4 separate regions of the Homo sapiens genome follow, and all the other regions are linked to region 2. Evidence: promoter capture Hi-C in human tissues and cell types (Jung and others, 2019). All regions are on one chromosome and are shown on one strand. The core of a region is centred on a gene start or on the middle of the fragment in contact, and the rest is flanking DNA. Distances in the headings are between cores, read along the strand shown. Region 1 has its middle 20 kb from the start of INSL4. Region 2 holds the start of ERMP1 (endoplasmic reticulum metallopeptidase 1). Region 3 overlaps UHRF2 (ubiquitin like with PHD and ring finger domains 2). Region 4 overlaps GLDC (glycine decarboxylase).

Evidence for each region. The method cuts DNA at HindIII sites, captures the fragments that hold promoters and counts their contacts. A contact is called where the count stands out against the background at its distance.
Region 1: a contact is called between a fragment that was not itself captured here and the fragment with the promoter of ERMP1 in region 2, in 1 of the 25 tissues and cell types used here (heart left ventricle).
Region 3: a fragment that was not itself captured here is called in contact with the fragment with the promoter of ERMP1 in region 2 in 1 of the 25 tissues and cell types used here (hippocampus).
Region 4: a contact is called between a fragment that was not itself captured here and the fragment with the promoter of ERMP1 in region 2, in 1 of the 25 tissues and cell types used here (lymphoblastoid cells).

The regions. Positions count from the first base shown.
Region 1 is chr9:5,249,767-5,252,466 of GRCh38, forward strand. No RefSeq gene overlaps it. Among named protein-coding and RNA genes, the nearest start is that of INSL4, 20 kb to the left of the region's middle. The HindIII fragment of the contact is 6,926 bases long and covers 1-2,700 here.
Region 2 is chr9:5,831,805-5,834,504 of GRCh38, forward strand. It overlaps ERMP1 (endoplasmic reticulum metallopeptidase 1), which reads right to left and starts at 1,313. Exons shown (of 15, transcript NM_024896.3): 1 at 886-1,313. The coding sequence starts at 1,223. RefSeq lists silencers at 880-1,099, 1,180-1,399. The HindIII fragment of the contact is 3,970 bases long and covers 1-2,700 here.
Region 3 is chr9:6,436,597-6,439,296 of GRCh38, forward strand. The region is part of intron 3 of UHRF2 (ubiquitin like with PHD and ring finger domains 2); the gene reads left to right. Among named protein-coding and RNA genes, the nearest start is that of UHRF2, 25 kb to the left of the region's middle. The HindIII fragment of the contact is 5,119 bases long and covers 1-2,700 here.
Region 4 is chr9:6,586,760-6,589,459 of GRCh38, forward strand. It overlaps GLDC (glycine decarboxylase), which reads right to left. Exons shown (of 25, transcript NM_000170.3): 12 at 2,436-2,533; 13 at 1,859-1,943; 14 at 1,642-1,683; 15 at 382-524. Among named protein-coding and RNA genes, the nearest start is that of GLDC, 58 kb to the right of the region's middle. The HindIII fragment of the contact is 3,053 bases long and covers 1-2,700 here.

The DNA.
Region 1 (2,700 bases), core at 34-2,533, 580 kb before region 2:
ATGGAAACACATCCCATGCTCATGGGTGGGTAGAATCAGTATTGTGAAAATGACCATACTGCCAAAAGCAATCTACAAATTTAATGCAATCCCAATCAAAATACCACCATCATTCTTCACAGAACTAGAAAATACAAATCTAAAATTCATATAGAACCAAAAAAGAGCCTGCATAGCCAAAGCAAAACTAAGCAAAAAGAACAAATCTGGAGGCATCACATTACCTGACTTTAAAGTATACTATAAGGCCATAGTCACAAAAACAGGATGGTACTGGTATAAAAATAGGCACATAGACCAATGGAACTGGATAGAGAACCCAGAAATAAAGCCAAATACTTACAGGCAACTGATCTTCAACAAAGCAAACAAAAACATAAAGAGGGGAAAAGACACCTTATTCAATCAATGGTGCTGGGATAATTGACAAGCCACATGTAGATGAATGAAACTGGATTCTCATCTCTCACCTTATACAAAAATCAACTCAAGATGGATCAAAGACTGAAATCTATGACCTGAAACCATAAAGATTCTAGAAGATAACATTGGAAAAACTCTTCTATTCATTGGCTTAGGCAAAGATTTCGTAACCAAGAACCTGAAAGCTAATGCAACAAAGACAATAATAAATAAATAGGACTTAATTAAACTAAAAAGCTTCTGCACAGCAAAAGAAATATTCAGTACAATTAACAGACAACTCACAGAGTGGGAGAAAATCTTCACAATCTATACAAAGGACTAATATCCAGAATCTACAAGGAACTCAAACAAATCAACAAGAAAAAACAAAAAACAAAAAACAATCCCATCAAAAGTGGGCTAAGGGTATGAATAGACAGTTCTCAAAAGAAGATATCCAAATGGCCAACAAGCATATGGAAAAATGCTCAACATCACTATCAGGGAAATGCATATCGAGACCACAATGCAAACCATCTCACTTCTGCAAGAATGGCCATAATAAAAAACATCAAAAAATAATAGAGTTGGCATGGACGCAGTGAAAAGGTAATACTTTTACACTGTTGGAGGGAATGTAAACTAGTACAGCGACTATGGAAAACAGCGTGGAGATTCCTTAAAGAACTTAAAGTAGATCTACCCCTTGATCCAGCAATCCCTCTACTAAATATCTACCCAGAGGAAAAGAAGTCATTACATGAAAAAATACTTGCACGCACATGTTTATAGTGCATAGGTATAGTGCATAGGTAAAAATATGGAACCAGCCCTAATGCCCCAAAGAAAATGTGATACACACACACACACACACACACACACACACACACACGCACTATAGAATACTATTCAGCCATAAAAAGAATAAAATAATGGCATTCACAGCAACCTGAATAGAAATGGAGACTATTATTCTAAGTGAAGTAACTCAGGAATGGAAAACCAAGCCATAGTTCTCACTTATATGTGGGAGCTAAGCTATGAGGACGCAAAGGCATAAGAATGACATATTGGGCTTTGGAGACAGGGAAAAAAGTGGGGGTGGCAAGATATAAGACTACACGTTGGGTACAGTGTATGCTGCTCGGGTGATGGGTGCACCAAAATTTCAGAAATCACCACTAAAGAACTTATTCATGTAACCAAACACCACCTGTTCCCCAAAACCCTATTGAAATAAAAAATTTAAAAATTAAAAAGTCATTATATAATGATTAAAGGGTCATTTCATCAAGAGGACATAACAATTGTAAAAATAAATGCACTCAACATCAGAGCAACTAAATATATAAAATAAATACTAACAGACCTTAAGAGAGAAATAGACAGCAATACAATAACAATAAGTGACTTTAATAGTCCATTTTAAACAATGGATAGATTACCCAGACACAAAATCCATAAGGAAACAGTACACTTGAATAATATAGACCAAATGGACCTACAGATATATACAGATCTTCCCATCCAACAACAGAAGAATACACATTTTTTTCAACACACACAGAATTCTCCAAGACAGATTGTATGTGAGGTAAAAAACCCAAGTGTTATCTAATTCAATAAGATCAAAATTCATACTAATTATTTTTTTCCAACCACATTGGTATGAAATTAGAAATCATAGGATGAATTTCAGAATATTCACAAATATGTAGAAATTAAACAACATGCTCCTGAAGAAAAATGGACCACAGGAGAAATTAAAAGAAAAATTTTAAAATATCCTGAAACAAATGATTATGGACATACAACCTAACAAAATTATGGAATGCAGCTAAAGCAATCTTAAGAGGGAATTTTATAGCAATAAACACCATAAGAAGAATATGGATCACAAATAAACAACCTAGTCTTTACATTTCAAGTAACCAGAACTCAATAATATGAGGAAAACTGAAAAATTCACAAATATGTGGAAATTAAACAACATCTTCCCAAACAACCATTAGGTCATGCAAGAAATCAAAAGAGAAACAGAAAGTTAACTTGTGACAATTAAAAATAGAAACACAACATACCAAAACTTATGGGATGTAGCAAACACATATCTAAAGAAAAGTTTTTGGCATAGGCCTAAGTCAAAAAAGAATGATACTAAAAAACAATGAAACTTTACTTCTGAAGAAACTAGAAAAAGAGGAACATAGAGAGTAGAAAGAAAAAGTGTGAAAGATCATAACAGAAATAAATAAAATAAAGCTAGGACAATAGAAAAGATCAATAAAATAAATA
Region 2 (2,700 bases), core at 63-2,562:
CTAATAACTTCAATTCAGGCCAAAACCAACTGTACCCCTAATGAAAACAAAACTGTTTTTGTCTTTTCACTGCATTCCAAGTGGGGAAAGCTGGAAGTGGGGGTGGGAGACGTTTCAGAAAGTCCTTAATAAGCTTGCAACACTTTGCATTCTAGCAAAAACTTTTTAGAACACAGTAGCTGTTGAAAACTTGACGCCAGCTTAACACTTCATGAGCTTTGACACACCTGGGTTACAATATCTTTGACTTAATCACCTTTCCTAGCATTCTTAAAGGTCTTAAAAAAAAAAAAAAAAGTCAAACCTTACACAGTCACTAATCCAAGGGGCCTAAAGATAAACTGCAGGGATCTGAGAATTTATCAGACTGCATACCAAATTTTGACTGGGCGGTGTTCCAGAAAGAGTTTCTATAGCCTTCAGATGTGGGGGCTGTAACCCTCAGAAAGTTAGAACAGTGCACTAGCGCCTTCCAAAACTCCCCGCCCCCAAAGCGAATTTATACAACAGTCTAGGTACACAAATTTCCATCTGGAAAGCAGAAGGGCTAAGCAAGGTAAAAAGGGGAAGCTGTTCCAGAATATGGGGAGACGACTCACAACCAACCATCTGCACGAAGGGCAGACAGTGGAAAGCAGGTTCAATCTACCTGGCAACCCCAATCTGCACCACGAGCTTAACCGGGGACAGGCAAGCCCCAAGTCCCGGCAATTCAGACCCCAGAAGAAGGACAAGCAAGGTCACCCCACCCCACGTGCAGCCTGGGAGGGGTCAGCGAGTCCCAGCGGTCCGGCAGGGGCGGGTGCACACAGGTGCGGTGCCCCGGAGCCTGCGCAGGAGCCGCAAACGGACGCGCGGGCCGTGCCAGGAGGGAGCGGCCGGTACCTGGCTTGGAGCGCGTCGAACTCCCCGCGGTGTCCAGCGGCCCCGCGTAGCACGAGCTGCTGCAGCGAGAGCTGCACCAGCGTCCGCAGCGCGATCAGGTAGAGCGCGAGCCCCAGCGCGGCGCGCACCTCAGACAGCCCGGTCCCCGCGCCCCTGCTCGCGCCGCCGCTACCCCCGGGGCTCCTCTTCCGCGTCCTCCCGCCGCCGCTGCACCCATCCACCAGAGGCTCCTGCGCTCGGGCCTCCCTCTCCGGCGGTGGCGCGGCCGCCGCTCCCTCTCGACGCTCTACTCCGACGCGGTGCCGCCTCACAGCAGCCGACTCAGAACCCCACTCCATGGCCACGAGCCTCAGCTGCCAGCCCAACCGCCCCAACCCGCGACAGCCCCGGCCGCCGCCGACGCCGCCGTCGCTGCCGCAGCGCCTCCTAGTGAGCGGACGGAAACTGCAGAGGGCCAAACTTCTTCTGATTGGCCCGTCCCGCCGCGCCAAGACCCAGCTTCTTTGGCAGTTCTCGGGTGCACACAGCTGCAGGGCCGACCCAGCAGCGGGTGGTGGATATGCCGTCTCCCGCAGGGCTTTTCCAGCCCTCTGTAGGACGGAGATTGCCAAATGTAAAGACACCTAAAAACCCAAAACGAGAAAAATGAGAGATCGCTTTTGAAAGAACACACAAGGCTCTTACAGTGCATCAGGCAGATGAAAAAAGCAATGACCTGGCTTTCGTAAGGAAGGAATATTAGAACATCAGGCTCCAAAAAAGTGGGTTCCTGGCTCTTAAAATTAGAAATAAGATTACGCAGAGGAGGCCCGGCCTATTGCTTTCACATGCATAATCTAATCAGATCTTCATAACTCAGCAACTTAATCTGTGCTATTACTGTCTCCATTTAACAGATAAAGAAAAATAATGGCTATTATTTATTGAATACCTGCTATGAGCTAAGCGCTAGGTCAAGTCCTTTAATACATCATCTTATTTAATTATCTTTAACAATACTTAAAAGGAAATATCTTTGTTCCCATTTTATAACCTGAGAAACGTAGAGATAACAGATGAAGAATGTAAATCTAATTTCATGGGCTCCCAAAACAGCATTCTGTTCCACTACTACATTAGCACTCTGCAAGTGAAGGTTCAGAAAGGCCATTCTTCACTTGACGACTCTCTGGGGCGGTTAAGCAGCAGAGCCTTGGTTTCAGTGCAGATCCTAGTGATTATCTAGTCTTCTTCCAGCTTGCCGGTACCCATGAGCCTCTCTGCTCCAAGGTTTTTTGTCCCTAGCTTGGAGTTGCTACATTAGCATGAGCATTAACCTAGAGACCAACTGGGAGAGCACACTGCCGGATTTTGACTTAGCACATATGTCAGATTTCATACAATGCCCTATAGTCCTGCTCTTGCCCACCTCTCAGGCTCCTCTGACACCAGGATGCTTCTTATTTCCAGCTCTCCAGCCACACTGGCCTCTTTCAAAGACTTCCTGCACGCATCTTTCCTTCTACAATAGGATCTTCTCACATGCTGTTTGAATTACCTGGAGTGTTCTTCTCTCTCCTCATTGTCTTTTTAACTCCTAGTTATCCTTTAAATCTCAGATTAAGTGGTACTTCCTCAAGCAAGAATCTCCTAATTTAATTAAGCTTGCTTCCCCTATTTGTAGGATCTCACAGCACCATGTTTGCATGTGACTATTTCATAACTTCCTCATTAGACTGTAAGCCCCACGAAGGCAGGAATCAGGTCTGGTTTTACTCACCATTTTATTCCTTGCTCTTAACACAAAGCATGACACATAGTATGTAGTCAATAGAT
Region 3 (2,700 bases), core at 127-2,626, 600 kb after region 2:
ATAGACATAGAATAAGGAACTTTAAATAGTGAACTAAGGCTTATTAAATTTTACAGTTTTAGGGGCTCTTAAAGTTGCTTTTGAAGTAAGACTATCCAATGGATAGGACCTACCCTTCAGTTTGGTGTATCTTAGAGCACAAAACACAGTACCTTAGCATATATTTGGCAACTTTTTTTGTCAGTTAGAATGAATGTTAAGTAAAGGGGAATCTAAATCCAACATGTGTGAAAAGACTAAAATTACCTGCCCTAAATAATTTTACGTGATGGAATTAAATGTTTCAATGCTGGCAACTTAAAGATACGATAGCTGAACTTTCTTTGAAAAATGAAAGATAACAGAAGCTTAGTAACAGGTAAATGTCACCTCTTTAAAAAGAGGAAAGGACTATATAAAATATGAGATGTATAACATAAATAAGCTCCTGGATAAAAGAATCATTATGAGCCCGATATGGTTGTGATACAAAGCATGTTAAAGTTTCATTCTTTGTGATCATTAGAAAAATGAATTATAAAATATAATGAAGTACATGTTGATTTCAGTAAGTCATCAAACAAGTTCTTCTTTGAATGGAGGATGCATTGAAGAAAGCTGGTATAGCCTAACAGTAGTAATAAGCAGATTTTTTATTTTATTATTATTATTTTTTAGACAGAGTCTCGTTCTGTTGCTCAGTCTGGAGTGCAGTGGCACGATCTCGGCTCGCTGCAACCTCTGCCTTGCAGGTTCAAGCGATTCTCCTGCCTCAGCCTCATGAGTACCTGGGATGACAGGTGCCTGCCACCACGCCTGGCTAACTTTTGTATCTTTAGTAGATACGGGGTTTCACCGTGTTGGTCAGGCTGGTCTTGAACTCTGGACCTCAGGTGATCCACCTACCTCAACCTCCCAAAGTGCTGGGATTACAGGTATGAGTCACTGCACCTGGCCAGATTTTTTTATTGAGTAGTAAGCTCCAAGTGAGTCGATAGAATGTGGTTGTCATATAGTTATGCTGTAAATCTGTTTTGCTTTATTTTATTTATTTATTTTTGAGACAGAGTCTTGCACTGTGGCCCAGGCTGGAGTGCAGTGGTGCGATCTCAGGTCACTGCAACCTCCACTTCCTGGTTTCAAGTAATTCTCGTGCCTCAGCCTCCCAAGAAGCTAGGATTATAGGCATGCACCACCACACCTGGCTAATGTTTGTATTTTTAGTTGAGACTGGGTTTCACCACGTTGGCCAAGGTGGTCTTGAATTCCTGATCTCAAACACCCACCTTAGCCTCCCAGAGTGCGAGATTACAGGTGTGAGCCACCGCACCCGGCTAGTTTCATTAGAAGTAAGATACCTAGTACAAACCAGATGATGCTGCTGTTGTACTGGACTGGCTATTCCCTACTAGGAATATTGTCCTCCAGCTCTCATGCCTTAAAAACAATACCATCAGGACCTGGTGCATGTTCAGAGTAGGACTCAAAATGTAAAACTACAGTGAAGAGTAGCCAAAAAAACTAAATACTTAGCTTGAAAGACCTGGATTATGATTGTTCCCATATTGTAAAAGCTCTTAGAAGAGATTTCTGTATAACACAGAAGGGAAGTTTCAGGATAACCTAAACTTCCTACCAGTCAAATATCTCTGAAGATGGAGAATGGTCTGCCTTGAGAAGTAGCCAGTAAACTAGCATTGGCCATTTTCAACCATAGATGGGAAGACTTATTGGAGATGATGCACTGCAAAGAGAATCTATGAAGTTAGTAATTGTATTAGATGACCTGTAATGACAGCATGTCATTTTTACCTCTAAGCCAGTGTCTCTCAAAGTCACATTTTTGTACTTTAACTAAATAGGCTTTAAGTGCTTATAGGTTACCATCCCATTGCATTTATGGCTTTATGGTATTTCTCTCAAAGAACTACTTTTTCATTTTTCTCCTAGAGTGATAAGCATTATTTGGCAAACCTGTGCACAATTGTGTCTGCAAACCTCTTGAGTGTAGCAGTGTAGTTTGAACAAGCTGTCATTTAGCAAAAGCAGGGAGATGTATTGTACATGAGATGAAAGAAACCTGCCTCTGGAATTATTCTGGGGTATGCAATGTTTGTCAGTTAAAATGGAGCTGTTTAAAAGCTGTTTTTTATAGTAATCTACGTATCTAATAGATTACTAGACCAGATTATCAGTCTTTGAAATGAAGCTTCATTAAAACAGAATTCGTTGCTGAATTAGGCCAAGATAAATAGCTATTCTCTTGCATTTTCAACTTCTACTCCAGTCAGAGCAGAGTTAAAAACAATCTTTAGTCTATGAGGAATGATAGCCATTATAGATTTATGATGTTTCTTCTTAGGTAGAGGAGTTTCAAACACCAAACCAAAAAAATTTAAGATATAGTAGAAGATGTAATTCTAAAATATAACTGAAATAATTTGTTTCCTAATTTATCTCCACTATTCCTTCAAAAATTACAGATACAAACACTAAGTTTATGAAAAACAGGTTATGTTAAGAGATTTGAAATGTTTTAAAATTTGAGTTTTACTAGTTGCTTGTAAATGGTCCTTTTCTATAGATTTCTTGGTGAACATAGGCTGAATTGTTTTTTGTTTGTTTCTTTGAGACAGCCCTGCTCTATGGCTTGGGCTGGAGTGCCGTGGTGTGATCTTGACTCACTGCAACTTCTGTCTCCCGGGTTCAAACGATTCTCCT
Region 4 (2,700 bases), core at 201-2,700, 760 kb after region 2:
GAAGGGATGCAGTGTAACTTAGGAGGTTCGGCCATTAGAGATTTGCAGCTTCTCCATGCTTCATCTGGGAACACGCATTCTGAACCCCGACATTGTGCTGTAAGGAACAAGGAAGCTCAAGGAACTACAAGGAAAGCCCCATATGGAGAAAAACTATGGCCCTAGTGAACATCCTCAAATGCACTCCCAGCCCACAGCTCCTCACCAGCTATGTGAGGGAGAACACGATGCACCTTCTAGCCATGCTCTCCCCAGTGGAGTGGAACTGTCTAGCAAGTCACAGAATAACACAAAAAAGTTGTTGTTCTAAGCCTTTAAGTTTTGTGGTGTATGCTATACAAGAATAGATTGCTGAAACAATAAGAAAAGAAATGCCCTTACCTGTTTGGCTGGAAACAGACCTGGTCATAACCTGTGAGTTCACACAAATCCTTCTCAAGCTCTCGGAAAAGCTGCTGATATCCTTGAGCTTGATCCAGAGGCACAAAGGGGTGGATGTTTGCAAATTCTTTCCATGTGATAGGCTGAAAAGAAAGAAAACAAAAATGCATATATACATATTATAATAGCAATAGCAATAATAACTTTAATAATAATGACGATGATGAGAAAAGCTATGTGCCAGGCACTGTTCTAAGCGCTATACATATGTTAATTTATTTAAGTTCCACCACAACCTTATAAGGTAAGTACCGTTACTGTCTTCATTTAAAAGTGGGACATAGTTGTCCAAAAAGGGAACTTACACAAAAATACAATGTTTTGCTAACTTTTCAGGGAAGAAAAGCCCCCAAAACAGATTTCTTTCCATGAAACACAATGAGTTGCTTCAGGTATGGTTGGCATAAACTCTTATATAGCAATAGATTGTTCTCTTTCTTCACTAAGTGGAACAAGAAACAAACACAAAAGTAAATGGGAAGGCCAGGTACAGTGGTTCACACCTATAATTCCAGAACTCTGGGAGGCTGAGGTGGGAGGACTGCTTGAGGCCAGGAGTCTGAGATCAGACTGGCAAACACAGCAAGACCTTGACTCTATTTTTTAAAAAAATAGAGAGGGAAATATTCTTATCATGATATAAAATGATTTCTTTCGTCTGATATGATATGTCACTTCAGAATAAACGTAAGAAATGAAAGAAAGAAAAAAAAAGCTTCGCTAAAATGGATCCTGGCCTAGTAGAGATACTTGCCAACCACAACAGCGAGTTGCACAAATCTTCTGTTGACTTGAATCCCTATCTTTCTGATACAGGAATGATTTCTAGAAAGACGGCTTAAGGTTCGTAATTCTACCTGAGATTTAGAACTATAAACAATTTTTTTTAAAAAAGCTTTTAATATGACAGGTTTAAAAGGGGGTGGGGGTGGGGGAGGGATAGGATAGAAAGGCATAAATACCATATACATTTAATTAATTTTATTAAAAAATAATAAGTTTACCCATACATTTAAATGATGAAGTCGTGAGAAATACAGGGTTACTCCCAAGATTGGTGAATAGCAAGGTAAAGAATTATTAAAATAGTTCTTCAATCACAGAATCACAGTCCCAGTAGATTTCACTAGTTCTGGGCTTAGGTGGAAGCTAGAACACTGCCCCTTGCTGAGTATCCACTTACAGAAGTGAGCTACTTACTGCGAGTTCAGACGAACTGTTCAGTTTCATGGTGCAGGATCCCTTTAAGAAGAACATCCAAAATGTATCACATTAGTGATTTTCTATAGTCCATCAATCAACCCTCCATTCTCCCAGCATGGCCACCCCTTTGTTGCTCTTGGAGCATATTAGGTAGGACCAAGAGACGTGGGATTGGGGTAGCTTGGAAATGAGAAAAAAGGCCACAAATAACTACCAGTGGAATCATGCTGTGAACAAGGGAAATGTCTTTATTTTCCAGTTTCTTCATGTACCGGACAATGTTTGTTTCAGAGTGGTAGCTGTGAACACAAAACACAGAATTAGGGGCCCCAAAAGTAGATATGAGTCCATGCACATCCTCCTGACATATAAGACACACCGAAATCTACTTTCAAAATGCAGATCAATTTTGGCCACGGACAATATGTCAACTACACTCAGAGAGAAGGGCACAGACCCCCACAAACCTCAGAGGATGTCTTGGACAAGAAGCTGACTGTGGGTATGAGTTGAAGGTTGGGAAGAAGAGGATATAGGGCTCTTGGGAGTGAACTTCAGCCTGGCAATTATTCATCCCTGCTTCCTGACTGCCAAGGGAGCAGAGCCACCAGGAAACAAAGTGTGCTTTTCCCAAGTCAGGAACGGGATCGTTATGAGGATGAAATACTTGGGAGCCACGGCTGAGCCAGAATAACCAGGCCACAGCAGGCGAAATCAGCAGCAGCACTCTGCCTAACTCCCTAGCTGATTACCAAAGCACAAAACGCAGAAGTCACACAAGACACACAAACCTGTTGAACACTTGATGGGTGAGGAACGGGCTGGTCCTCTTGAACACAGACCCTGGAATACCTCTGCACTCCTCTCCCATGCTTTCAGCAACCAGTTCCTGAAGGAGAAACACAGAGATGATAGGGCCAGAACTGTGCCTGGAGCCACATGTGGACATCCAGGCTTCTGGGTGGCTGGGCCACAAAGCACTCAAAATGGATCAAATATATAATTTTACTTATTTATTTATTTATTTATTTATTTAATATTTTTGGAGGCAGGGTC